Regions from separate parts of the Homo sapiens genome. Here region 2 is linked to region 1. The links are contacts of gene promoters, found by promoter capture Hi-C in blood cells and fetal thymus (Javierre and others, 2016). All regions are on one chromosome and are shown on one strand. Each heading gives the region's core, a stretch centred on a gene start or on the middle of the fragment in contact. The rest is flanking DNA. Distances are from core to core; before and after follow the strand shown. Region 1 holds the start of GNAT2 (G protein subunit alpha transducin 2). Region 2 has its middle 35 kb from the start of CSF1.

The links. Contacts are between HindIII fragments. The CHiCAGO score rates a contact against its expected background, and 5 or more counts as called.
Region 2: a contact is called between a fragment that was not itself captured here and the fragment with the promoter of GNAT2 in region 1, in 1 of 17 cell types (total CD4 T cells). The highest score is 5.1, in total CD4 T cells.

Annotation. Positions count from the first base shown.
Region 1 is chr1:109,615,891-109,621,686 of GRCh38, reverse strand. GNAT2 (G protein subunit alpha transducin 2) reads left to right here and starts at 2,071. Exons shown (of 9, transcript NM_001377295.2): 1 at 2,071-2,204. AMPD2 (adenosine monophosphate deaminase 2) reads right to left here and starts at 1,850. Exons shown (of 19, transcript NM_001368809.2): 1 at 1,409-1,850; 2 at 421-773. The coding sequence starts at 511. RefSeq lists enhancers at 565-1,093, 1,053-1,102, 1,624-2,152, 2,123-2,172, 2,153-2,683 and 1 more and a silencer at 1,743-1,932. The HindIII fragment of the contact is 17,616 bases long and covers 1-5,796 here.
Region 2 is chr1:109,942,712-109,949,177 of GRCh38, reverse strand. No RefSeq gene overlaps it. Among named protein-coding and RNA genes, the nearest start is that of CSF1, 35 kb to the right of the region's middle. The HindIII fragment of the contact is 2,020 bases long and covers 718-2,737 here.

The sequences.
Region 1 (5,796 bases), core at 822-3,321:
AACTAGCCACAGAACAGCCTAAGCCTGCCTGGTAAAGGCACAGGCGCCAGTCAGAGTGGCCAGTCCACAAAACAGTCAGTCCCACACACCCCCGCTCCATTCACACATGCTTCACACGCAGTCTTAGCACATGCACACGCTGACACGTGTGCATACACACCTCTTGCTGCACCCACACCATGCCCACTCCTTGTGACAGAGGACAGCATCCCTGGCACAGATATCTCAGATCCACCCCCCGCCCCCCACCACCCCTCACCCCACCTTCCAAGCCGGCTGTCCCTGGGACTGAGGTTGAGGGGCACCACCACAGAGAGGATGCCGGAGGAGGTGGCCCCCTCTGAGGGGACCAGCACCTTGGGCGAGAGGTGGCAAGACAGAGCCCAGCATCTATCCTGAGGCCAGGAAGCACACACTCACCTGGAGCTGCAGTGGAGGCCTGCAGGCTGGCCCGCTTCTTAAAGGGATATTTGGCCTTGGGCTTGCCAGAGCCAGATGGATAGGATGCCATGGCTGGGACCACGGCGGCGACAGCGGGGGAGTCTGAGCGGCACCGGCTGGGGCCTGGCTCTGCCACATCCAACCCCTTCCTCCGCCCCGCCCCCAGCGGGAGTGACTGATGCAGGAAGCAGCGGCTCCGCAGGCGGAAGAGGCCCTGGCCACGATTTCTCATGTTGTCTAGGCAACCTCGGGGAGTGGGGCCTCCATCTCTGCCCCTTATCCCTCCCCTGCCTCCTCAGTCCCAGGAGTGACGTGACTGATGGTGGCTGGGCCTGGCGGGGGGCGGGGAGGGGGTGGGTAGAAAAGAAGATGGGGAAGGGCCAGCCCCCAGCTCTCCACTAACCCACCAAGAGCCCTCACCCCATCATGCCAGGGCTCCCGGGCAAAGAAGCCAAAGTCCAGGCTAGCTGGTCCTTCCAGCTAGCCTGGAAGAAAAAAGAATAACAAACAGGAATTCAGCAGCGAGCGAGTCCAAGCTCAAACACAGTCCTCCCGGGGCAGGGCAGGCATACTCCGTGAAAACCCAGCACCCACTTTCCTTCCACATCTGACCCTCAGCTCCCGGGGTAGCCCAGCTCTGGGAGGAGGGGGAAGAACCGAGAATCCCAGCCCAGGAGGGAGGGGCCTGTCCCGGGAAAATTCCACCGTCGCCAAATAGCTACCTCCCAGGAAGGCAGGAAGGCCAGGAGACCCCCTTGTCTGGGGGTCTGGGACAGAGACCCTAGCCTCTTTGGATTTTTCCTCTGTCTCTGCACACTCTGGCTCTGCTCCCCAGGCCCTCCTGGGAGGAGCTGACCGCCTTCCCTAGGTCCTGCTGCTGTGCTGTGACTCCCACCCTCTTGTCACTCTGGCCACAGCACTTCTCTGTCCCAGAGACCCTCCCTCCAACACACGTACACACACTCACCTGAGGCCATGATGCCCGAGTTCCGAGGGGAGGCTGCCCACGAGAAGTCTGTACAGCAGAAAGCCCGGGTCCTGAGGGACGGCAGGGGGATCGGGCCACAGACCCCAGCCAAGTCACTCCAAGGGCCCCTGCCCTGGCACTGAGATGGGGAAAGTAAGGCAGTCTTTCAAAATTGCCAGCTGGCCGGAGGTGGACTCCCGCAGACCTCGGCAGCCGGACTGGCCTCAAGGCGACCCCGGTGTCGCGACCACCCAACCCTGCAATCGAGAGGCTGGTAGGCCACGTGCTCCCAAGGGAGCGGGACCCGAAACTCGTCCAGATTTCTCTCAACACTCCCTGGGCATTCAGGGTCGGACTCCCGCGGCCGGACTGTGGGGGAGTCACGCAACAGGTGAGACCCCACCAAAATCTCGCCGGCTCCGCGCCAGGCTCTGCGGCCCTTGGCCCCGCCCCCGCCTGGCCCCGCCTCCGCCTGCCGACCCCGCCTCGCCATTTTTTTCTCTTCCTGGGCGCCACGTGGGCAGCCACCACACCGCGGTAGGGCTGGCCTGAGCCGACCCTGGGTCTTGGGCCAGTTCCGTGCGTCAGCTTCCTCATCAGTAAGATGGGGTAATGACAGTACCTCACTCAAAGGGGTTACTGTGAAGATTAAACGTAAAGTCCCTTTACACAGTGCCTGGCACGAAGTGAGGGCCCAGTGAAAGGTAGCTGTTATCATTGTCCCAGGATTCATTTTAAGCAGAAGTCCTGCCCCTGCAATCTCACTTGGTCGTCTGTTTTCTTCCGGCCGGCGTAGGTAGGAGGCTGTGCCCTGCAATTCTGGCTCCCCTTCCCACATTTCTGTATTTGGTGGTTAAGAGCTTTAACTCTAGCCAGAATGTCTGGGTTCAAATCCAGATTTCACCTACTTCCTGACTGATACTGGGCAAGTTACCTAACTTCTCTGTGCTTCTATTTCGTCTGTAAAATGAGTGTAAGAGTACCTGCTTTATATGGTGGTTAAGATAAATGAGTTAATATAAGTTAACTGCTTAGAACTGTGCCTGGCCTGTAGTTAGTACTCAGTATTCATGTATTACCATTGCTTTAGCCTTGGCCTTGGTTCTCTATTGACACTCACAGGTTGATTCACTTGCAGCCGTTCTGGGGTCTATCCAACAAGCATCCCCACTGCCAAGGGGTAGATAATCCGACCTAAAGGGAACTTGTGGAGGGAAGTCCCTAAGACTTCACTGAATATAATTAAATGCATTAGCAGGAATTAATCTCTTCCCTATTTTCCCTCTTGTGGGAGGCCTTTGCCCCCCACACCCAGTTGTTCTAATGCTGTTTGTCTGGCTCCTCCCAGTTCTTACCACTCCCACAGCAGAGATCCTTCCCAAACTCTGCCTCCCTCTTCTCTCCCCACGCTGGATTCTGGACCCTGAACCCTTTTCTCCACCTGCATCTGGTGCCACTTCCATTGATCCCTGGCTACTGTTCCCTGAACAAACTTAAAAAAAACTTGGCCTCTTCACCTCACACAGAATCCATAAAACTAAAAAGAGAACAGAGATAACCAGGTTTACCTAATCAAAATAGCAAAGACTAAAAAACAAAAAACCAAAAAATAAACGCTAATGCAGGTTGGCAAGGGTATAGTTAGTGAGATGGGAGACACACACACACGTACATGTGCACAAACACATTACTGGTGGCCTTGAACACTGATATAATCTTTCTGAAAGCCATCTGGTAATATAGAATCAAAATTTTCAAAAAGGTTCTTATTATTTGACCCAGTAATCAACTTTCTGGAAGTTGTTTTTCTAAAAAGAGCTGCCAGAAAAATATGTATGCAAAAAGTTGTTCAGCACCACAATGTGTATTGCATAGAAAAGTTAGATACTTTAAAGGTCGAACAATAGGGGAATGTTTATGTAATATTCATACCATGAAATACAGCCATTAAAAATTGTTCTTGGAGAAATGTTTAATGATGTGGAAATGTTTACAATATAAAGTTAGGTAAAAGAATGGATGCAAAACACTATACACAGTATGGTCCTACTTATGTGATATACATGGGTAGAAAAGAAACACACCAACAAGTTTACCAATGATTATCTGTAGTGATGGAATTATGGGTTATATTTATTTTCTTTATATTTATTTGCATTTTAGAAATTATAATACATACCCATAACTTTTATAATCAAGGGGATAGAAATCAACAAAAATCTGTAAAAATCTGTAATTGCCTCCACAGTCCCCCCAACCCAGCCTTCCCGGGGTCTTAACCCCAGACTTAAACTATTCTGTTTACATTTATGGCCCACTGAATTGGTCTTGGGGCGCTTAGGGATTTTGAGGCTGATGGACTCTCAAGAATGAATAAAATGAATCTCAAAAATCAAGCACCATGTAACTACATAAATGTCATGTATCTTCTGATAAGATGCAAATGTTGACATAGTTTTAAAGATAGTATCTTGCATTGGGCCAGGTCTCTTGAGCATCCTGCTTAATGCAGACCTACCTACCTCAGCAGCCAATAGGTGGCAATCCTTGCCCTCCACCCAGCCCAGGCAAACCAGTTCATTAGTCCCTTTATGCTAGTCCCCTAGTCCCATCTGCAACACACCCTTCACTCTACAACCCTCCCCTATTTCCAGGTCATCTGGTGTATTGTTGCTGCTAGGAAGTCGGCCCTGATTATAGTTAGGCATCAATCCCTCCACCCACTCCATACCAGCAAGAATCTCAGTGAGGTTTCATTGTCTACGCAGAACAGAGCTTGGGAAATAAAGGAGTGAGTCATCCTATGGCCTGGGCTTTTTTCACACTGAGGCCTTAACATTCATTGCCTTTGAGCCTCTGAGATATTCCCTAGCTCCAAACACAGCTTCCTCCCCTCCTAGCCTGTTCCCCACATGGCTCCTTAACTGGCCCTCCCGGAATCCCAGCTCCCTAAAGATGGTGCACTCCTGTTTCTCTGAAGAAGTGCTTTTCTTTGCTTCTGGACTTCAGCTCACTTGTGATGTCCGCCTCCCTAGCTAGGCCAGAACAATCTTCACAGATACTAAACTTGGGAGAGAATATCTGCAGCTCCAAAAAGGTCCTTGGCCAAGGCAATTTCCCAAACCATACCTTATGCCTAGGCCCTTCTAGAAACAAGCTGTTCAGCTCTGGTTTCTCAGCTTCTCCCAGCAGCCAGCTCCCTCTCCCCCTCACCTCAGTCACCCAGCATTGTGTTTATAGCACCATACAGCTGTTTCCATCTATACTTGTTTATAAGACCCCAGTGGATTTTAGTCAAACCCCTTGCCATTGAAGGCGCTTCACTGGCTGGCTCCAATTTCCCTTTCTTGTCTTCATCTTCACCTCCCAACCCTCCACTCCATGCACCTTTCACTCCAGTCCAGTCACATCAAAGTCCCAGTCTTCTCTGAGCACACCTTGTACTTTGTGCCTCTACCTCTTTTTTCATGCTCTTTCCTTTCCCCAAAATGCGTATCTCCCACTTCCACTGTTATTCTGCTTCTCTGTGGAAAGTCTATTCATTTCACAATCACCCTTTTCTTTCTTCCGCTGTAGAACTTTGTCAGTCTGACAGTCAGATGTGTGTTTGATTGCCTTTCCTACCAGGGGTGAATGCTAGGTCTTAAACAGCTCTGAATTTCCCAGCACTACTGCAGTATCCCTTTAACTCATTTGTTTTTCTGTGAATTTCCCCCACCTCTGCCTATGGACTGGAAGGTCCTGAAGGTAGTTCCTCATCCTTCATGTCCTCCCACTCCATCTGGGACAAGTCTTTACCCACAATTCACTTAAGACAAGGCTTACCACGGATGTCAGACAGATCCCTTAACTCAGGAAACATGCCCAAATCACTAAGAAACAGTGATTTACTTTTCATTCAAAATGATAATGGTTATAAAGGGCTGTGAATCAAAACACCTGAGCTCTGGCTTGGCTTCTGATACCAACTTGCTTATTAATGTGAGGATCACTTTTCTGTACTTCAGTTCACTCACCTCCAAAATGGAACTAGCACTACATACCTTATTTACTTCATCAGGAAACTGTTCGTAAATGTGATCATAAAGTGGGACAGCCACAGGAAAGGCACAGGAACTGACGATAGAGGCAGAGGCAGGAGGTCACAGACATCAGGATGATGTATGCACAGTAATGGATCTGTACTCTCAGGCCAGGCGAGGGCTAGCAGTTCCCTCTCTCAGCTTAGCAGTGAGAAAGGGGAACTTCCATCCAGTAAGTTAGGGAACAAAGCAGAAGCAGCACAGAAGTTTGCAGAGGTAGTAGCAGAAAAAGGAACAAGCCCACTTTCCCTGTGTGTGAAACAACTTAGTGGTTCCTTTAACAAGGGCTGCTGTTATAGAGTTCAT
Region 2 (6,466 bases), core at 478-2,977, 330 kb before region 1:
GGAGTGTAGTGGCACAATCTTCGTTCACTGCAGGCTTGACCTCCTGGGTTCAAGCGATCCTCCTGCCTCAGCCCCAGAAGTAGCTGGGACTAAAGGTACATACCACCACGCCCAGCTAACTTTCATATTTTTTTGAAGAGATGGGGTTTCACCATGTTGGCCAGCCTGGTCTCGAACTACTGACCTCAAATGATCTGCCCGCCTCACCCTCCCAAACTGCTGGGATTACAGGCGTGAGCCACCACACCTGGCCAAATATATAAAGATTACTCTGAACTTTACAGCAGCTACATACAAGACTATGCTATAGAAATAAAAGATGTGACAAATATTAAAAGCTTATCCCCAAGTAGAAAACAATAGATGGAGAAAATACTGGCTTGTGTCTGGATTCTACTCTGTAAATTGTCAAAGGAGAGGAACAGTTTATTCCCCCCAAAAAGGAAGAACAATTATCACATAAAAAAATACAGCCTTGAAAGTAATAAAGAGAAGCCCATTTAAACAACTTTAACATATCATTCTAGAACTATTAGACTAGCAAAAAGCTAGTAAAAGTAATAAATCCCATGTTAACAGAACTGTGGGGAAACAGGTACTTATATGTTGCTGGTGATAATGTGAACTTGTGCAATCTCTTAAACAATAAAAGGATATGCATCAAAGGCAGTAAAAATGCTCATATCTTTTGGAGTATTTATTCTGTTTTTGGAAGCTTATCTACAAGGAAGTAAATAAACCAAAAATTAAGCAAACAAAAAAAAATCAATCTGTTTCATACTGTGTAAAAAAGTGAAACTTGAAAATGACTCAGGTGCCAAATAATAGAGGAAATTCTAAGCAACTTTTCTTATAATAACACACTGGACAATTAAGAATGAAAATCTGGGGACTTTTTTTAACATGAAAGAATGTGAATGTCAACACAGCAGTGCTACCACCTGAGATGTTGAAGTGTGATTTTTCTGTAATAAAGCCAAGAGAGGTCACCCCTGAGATCAGAATTCTAATCTTTGGAACAATGCGCTGCCCAGAACTTACTGTACTAGGTGAAGAATCCTCTTACACAGGGTTATGCCAACCTGCCAGATTGAAAAGTCTAAGAAACTCCCTGGTGAGGCTTGAGGCTTGAAGTAACGATTTCATTTCACTTCATGGACGCTATTAACTCGGCCTCATGGACACACTTGTCCTGCAGTAAGATGAAGAGAGGAGGGTGCCCAGGCAGGCAGGACTGAAAGGTTCAGTTTCATTAGGAACTGGGTGCCCAAAGGAGGAAGCTGTAAGCCACGCTCCTGGAAAGTAGAGAACTTCGCAGGGAGCATGGGACCAGGGAGGAAGTGCCTTCTAAGGCTGCAGGAGTGGCAGGCCTTGGGACGGGAAAATTCCAGAGTAAAGATCCATTGTGAGGGAATTTCGCCTGTGTGAACCCAGAGCCTTCTGTAAATGCCACGGGATGCCTGAAAGTTCTAAACAGGAAACATGGCAAGACGGAGAGGAGCTACAATTTATTTGTCCAACTCATAATGCAGGTAAACAGGAAGATGAGATGTTTTGCCTACCTGCATGCCATGCCAGACTGCCTGGGTTTGAATTCTTTTTTTTTTTTTTTTTTTTTTTTTTTTTTAGATGTAGTCTCACTCTGTCACCCAGGCTCAAGTGCAGTGGCATGATCTTGGCTCACTGCAACCTCCATCTCCTGGATTCAAGCAATTCCCCCTGCCTCAGCTTCCCGCGTAGCTGGGATTACGGGTGTGCACCACCATGCCCACCTAATTTTTGGATTTTTAGTAGAGAAGGGGTTTCACTACGTTGGCCAGACTGGTCTGGAACTCCTGACCTCAGGTGATCCACCCGCCTTGGCCTCCCAAAGTGCTGGGATTACAGGTGTGAGCCACCACACCCAGCCCTGGCTTTGAATTTTGACTCTACCATTTATTAGCTGTGTGACCTTGGGCAAGTCACTTACACGCCTGTGGCTCAGTTTAACAACAGCACCTTCCTCTTAGGGATGCAGTGAGGTTTAGGTGCAACAAAACAGGGAAAGCTCCCACATTGGGATTCTCATTAACTGCAAGCTCCTATCATTATTTTGTACTAAGGTTATCTTGCCATGCAGCAAAGTGCCTGGGAGCACAGCTCAGAGAATAAGAAAGTTTGGATCAGATAGAAGCATCAGGAATTTATAACCAAGAGCTACCCAAAACAGTGAGGATCTGGGAGGAGGAAGAAAGAAAGCCTTCAAGTTATTTACACTGGAGATGCTAGGCTGGCGTGGGAAGGTTGGATGCCCTAAGCCTTCAGGTCTCAGTTGGGCTACCAGGCAGGTTTCTCCCCTCACCAGAGGCCGTCTCACAGTCAGCCTTGGGACCCTGGCTAGAGGCAGTTCTCCTTGAATTGCTTCGAGTGAGGCAGGACTGGTCCCAAATGGAGTCATGGGGTCATTGGGCACTAGACCACGGGTGCCTTGAAGACCTCACTGTGTGAGAGACAGATTGAGAAACACATCCAAGAATTTAGGAAGTAGATAGTGCTTTTTTTTTTTTCTTCCTGCTGATTGCCTGCCCATTGGTTGAGAGTGGGTAGTGTCAAAATTAAATCCTGATGCTTGTGCATTTTCCCTGGGAAAAGTTACAGATTTCGCTGGCTGAGGCAGTGGATGGGCGGGCAAGTGCAGGGACTAAGTGAAGGGGTCTGGAGGAGGGAAGAAATGTCTTCAGGGCATTTTTCGGAAGCTTTGCTGTGCAATGTGTTGTATAATCTTCTCCTCTATGTCCCAAGATAATTGTGCTAAAGACTGACATTTATTTTAAGGCTTTAAAAAAAAAGTTAGCTTTAGATTTCTTTGGAATGTTGTGCTGTGATGCTCCCTAAGGCACAAGCAATAGAAGTCTGTAAGTATGGGATTGTTCATTCACACAATCATTATTTATTAAGCACCTACTGTATCTGAGGAGCCATGTTAGGAGACGAGAATAGAGAGGTAGATAAGGTACAGTCTTAGTCTTCAAGTTGCTCACAGTGTACTGGAGATACAGATAAATATACAAATAATAGGTAAATTGTTGGTGTAATAATAATTGCGGTAGGCTGAATAATGTCTCCCAAACAGATCCAGGTCCTCGTGTCTGGAAACTAGGAATGCCATCTTACCCAGGTGGGCCCTAAAGGTGATCAGAAGAGTCCTTATAAGAGGAAGGCAGGGGGAGATCTCCCCACAGAAGAGAAGGCAATGTGATGGCAGAAGCTGCAATTGGTGTGATGAGCGTTGAAGACGGAGGAAGGGAGCGCACACCAAGGAATGCAGGAGGCCTCTAGAAGCTGAAAAAGTCAAAGAAACAGATTCCCCCTCAGAGTGTCTGGAAGGAACCAGCCCGACCCACACCTCGACTCTGGCCCACTGAGACCAATTTCAGACTTCTGAACTCCAGATATTTAAGATAATAAATTGAATCAATTTGTGGGGGTTTTTTGTTTGTTTTTGAGACAGGGTCTCACTTTGTTGCCCAGGCTGGAGTGCAATGGTGCCATATTGGATCATGGCAACCTCTGCCTCCCTGGTTCAAGCAATTCTTCTGCCTCAGCCTCCTGAGTAGCTGGGATTACAGGTCTGAGCCATCACGCCCGGCTAATTTTTGTATTTTTAGTAGAGACCAGGTTTTACCATGTTGGCCAGGCTGGCCTAGAACTGCTGACCTCAAGTGATTCACCCACCTTGACCTCCCAAAGTGCTGGGACTACAGGTGTGAGCCACCACACCCGGCCAAATTTGTGTTGTTTTAAGTGACTAAGTTTGCAGCAATTAGTTATATCGGCAATAGGAAACTAATACATTAGTGTTTAGTGAAAGAAGAGGCACAGAATGGAATGGACATCCTGACAATTGCCCTGCAGATATGCAGCTCATCCAGGTGTCAGAAGGGAATACAGAGAAGTGGTGCTATTGACTCTTGCCATAAAGGAATCTGGGAAGGACGTAAAGAACATCTTTACCTAGCACTGTGAGGTGTGGAGAGGTGAAGGGATTGGCCAGGGTCATACATATTCATTTACTGAGCATCTGCTCTGAACCAGCTCCTGTGTTGGTTTTGATGGGATATGAAAATAATTAAGGCAGGGTTCTTGCCCTCAAGGAACTTCCAGTCCAGCAGGGGAGAGCTAGCATAAAAGCTCTGGGTTATCATGACTTTGGACCAGTTATTTAACCTCTTTGGGTTTAGGTCCTTCTATGTAAACGATAGAAAGAGCTGCTTCACCAGATGTGAGGACCAAGTGATAAAATATATGCCAACTTGCTTTGTAATCTGTAAAGCATTATAGAAATAAAAGGTGTTATTGTAATTAGGTATAAGAAAAACAAGACACTCACTTAAGTAGCTTGAAGGCATATGAGGAAGACATAAAAAAACCACAAGACACTCACTTAAGTAGCTTGAAGGCATATGAGAAAGACATAAAAGACATACTGGAGATTCAGATGGAGTGACCGAAGAGATGAACTCAGCTAGCAGGATCAACACAGCTTTCTAGAGGAAGGACATTTTAGCAGGTTGTGGTGGGACAGGAAGTAGATGTGAGAAGGGGAAGGGGAGCGAGAGCCCAAGGAAGGGCAAGGAGGAAGAACATTTACTAGATGTGAATGTGAATGTGAGTGGCTGGAGATGAGGTTAAACGGTTAAATGATAGATTGGGCCCTGATTGTGAAGGGATAACCTGCGTCCTTTGTAGGTGACTTGAACCTCTAGATGATGAGGAATTTCAGTGGTGGGGAAGTTGGCACCTTCATAGGGCTAAATCTTAACTTTTCCATAAGCCCTTCTTAATCTTGCTTCCACCACCTCATCCCAGCTCCTCATTAAGGTGTCCAGAGCAGAACCCAGGTTGTGTGGCTCCAATCGCTGCTCCTTTCTCCATCAGTTCTATTTCAACACAAGGCAGAGTTAGGAGCTGAAACTTGTTCGTGTTTTTTTTCCCTTTAAAAAATACTGTTGGAGTTTTTTTGTTTTGTTTTTGTTTTTTGTTTTAGAAAATTACTCATTGTTGGCCAGCGCGGCGGCTCATGCCTGCAATCCCAGCACTTTGGGAGGCCGAGGCGGATGGATCACCTGAGTTCAGGAGTCTGAGACCAGCCTGGCCAACAAGGTGAAACCCTGTCTCTACTAAAAATACAAAAATTAGCCAGGTGTGGTGGTGGGTGCCTGTAATCCCTGCTACTCTGGAGGCTGAGGCAGGAGAATCGCTTGAACCAGGGAGGTGAAGGTCGCAGTAAGCTGAGACTGCGCCATTGCACTCCAGCATGGGCAACAAGAGCGAAACTCCGTCTCAAAAAAAAAAAAAAAGGAAAACAAAAAGAAAATTGCTAATTGTTAAATCATGCAAAGGATGAAGACAATAGTTTCTGGGACAGATGAGCATTCACTGTGAGCCAAAAAGCCAAATGCTGTTTAAAGTACATTCTACTTGGACCTCTGCTGATATTCTCATATCGAATAACATTGTGCTGAAAAATTGGTGGAGAATACTTGCACTAGAACAAAAATTCTGGTTCAGGGTTTGGTTCTTGGTTAAAAAATAAACTATGGGAGGCCCAGGCGGGCGAATCACGAGGTCAGGAGATCGGGACCACCCTGGTTAACATGGTGAAACTCCATAAAAAATTAGCCAGGCATGGTGGCGGGGGCTTGTAGTCCCATCTACTTAGGAGGCTGAGGCAGGAGAATGGTGTGAACCTGGGAGGTGGAGCTTGCAGTGAGCTGAGATTGCGCCACTGCACTCCAGCCTGGGCGACACAGCAAGACTCCATCTCAAAAAATAAATAAATAAAATAAAATAAAAATAAAAAATAAAAAAGGGGAATAATTGTTCTGGAAGTTGTATTCGTCTTCTCTTTCCATTTTGCTCTTATCAGCTCTACAGACGTTAACTGAGCGCCTTCTCTCTGCTGGTCTGTGTGGTGGGTGGTAGGCAGGCCCTGTGAATGGAGTTCCAGTCTGGTGATGAGGGAGTGTCAGATGACGTTCATCTACCTCAGTATTTGAGCTTTTAACTCAAAGAGTTATGACTTTTAAGGAAGATTCTAAAGCCCACTTAAATTGTCTCCTCCTCTATGTATTCTTCCCTGATAATTTGCTAGAAGGACTCTCTCTTTCTCTTTTTCTGTCCCTCGGCCTCACTCCCTTCTCCATACCCTTTCCTCTAGGTAGGAGTAATCTTTTATTCTACATCTCCCAAGACAGTTAAGATTTCAAATATTTTACCCCACAATCCCTACATTACAGTGACATGCAAATGTTTTGACAACCGAGCAACAGCTTCTGAAATACCTGTGTCTCCCAAATGATAAAAACTACAACTTGGATGGTGCCATTTTCCAGGACAGTTTAGAAGTAAAAACTGTGCTATTATCACCCTCAATTTACAGATGAGGAAACTGAGTCACAGAGAGATTAAATTATTTACCCAAGGT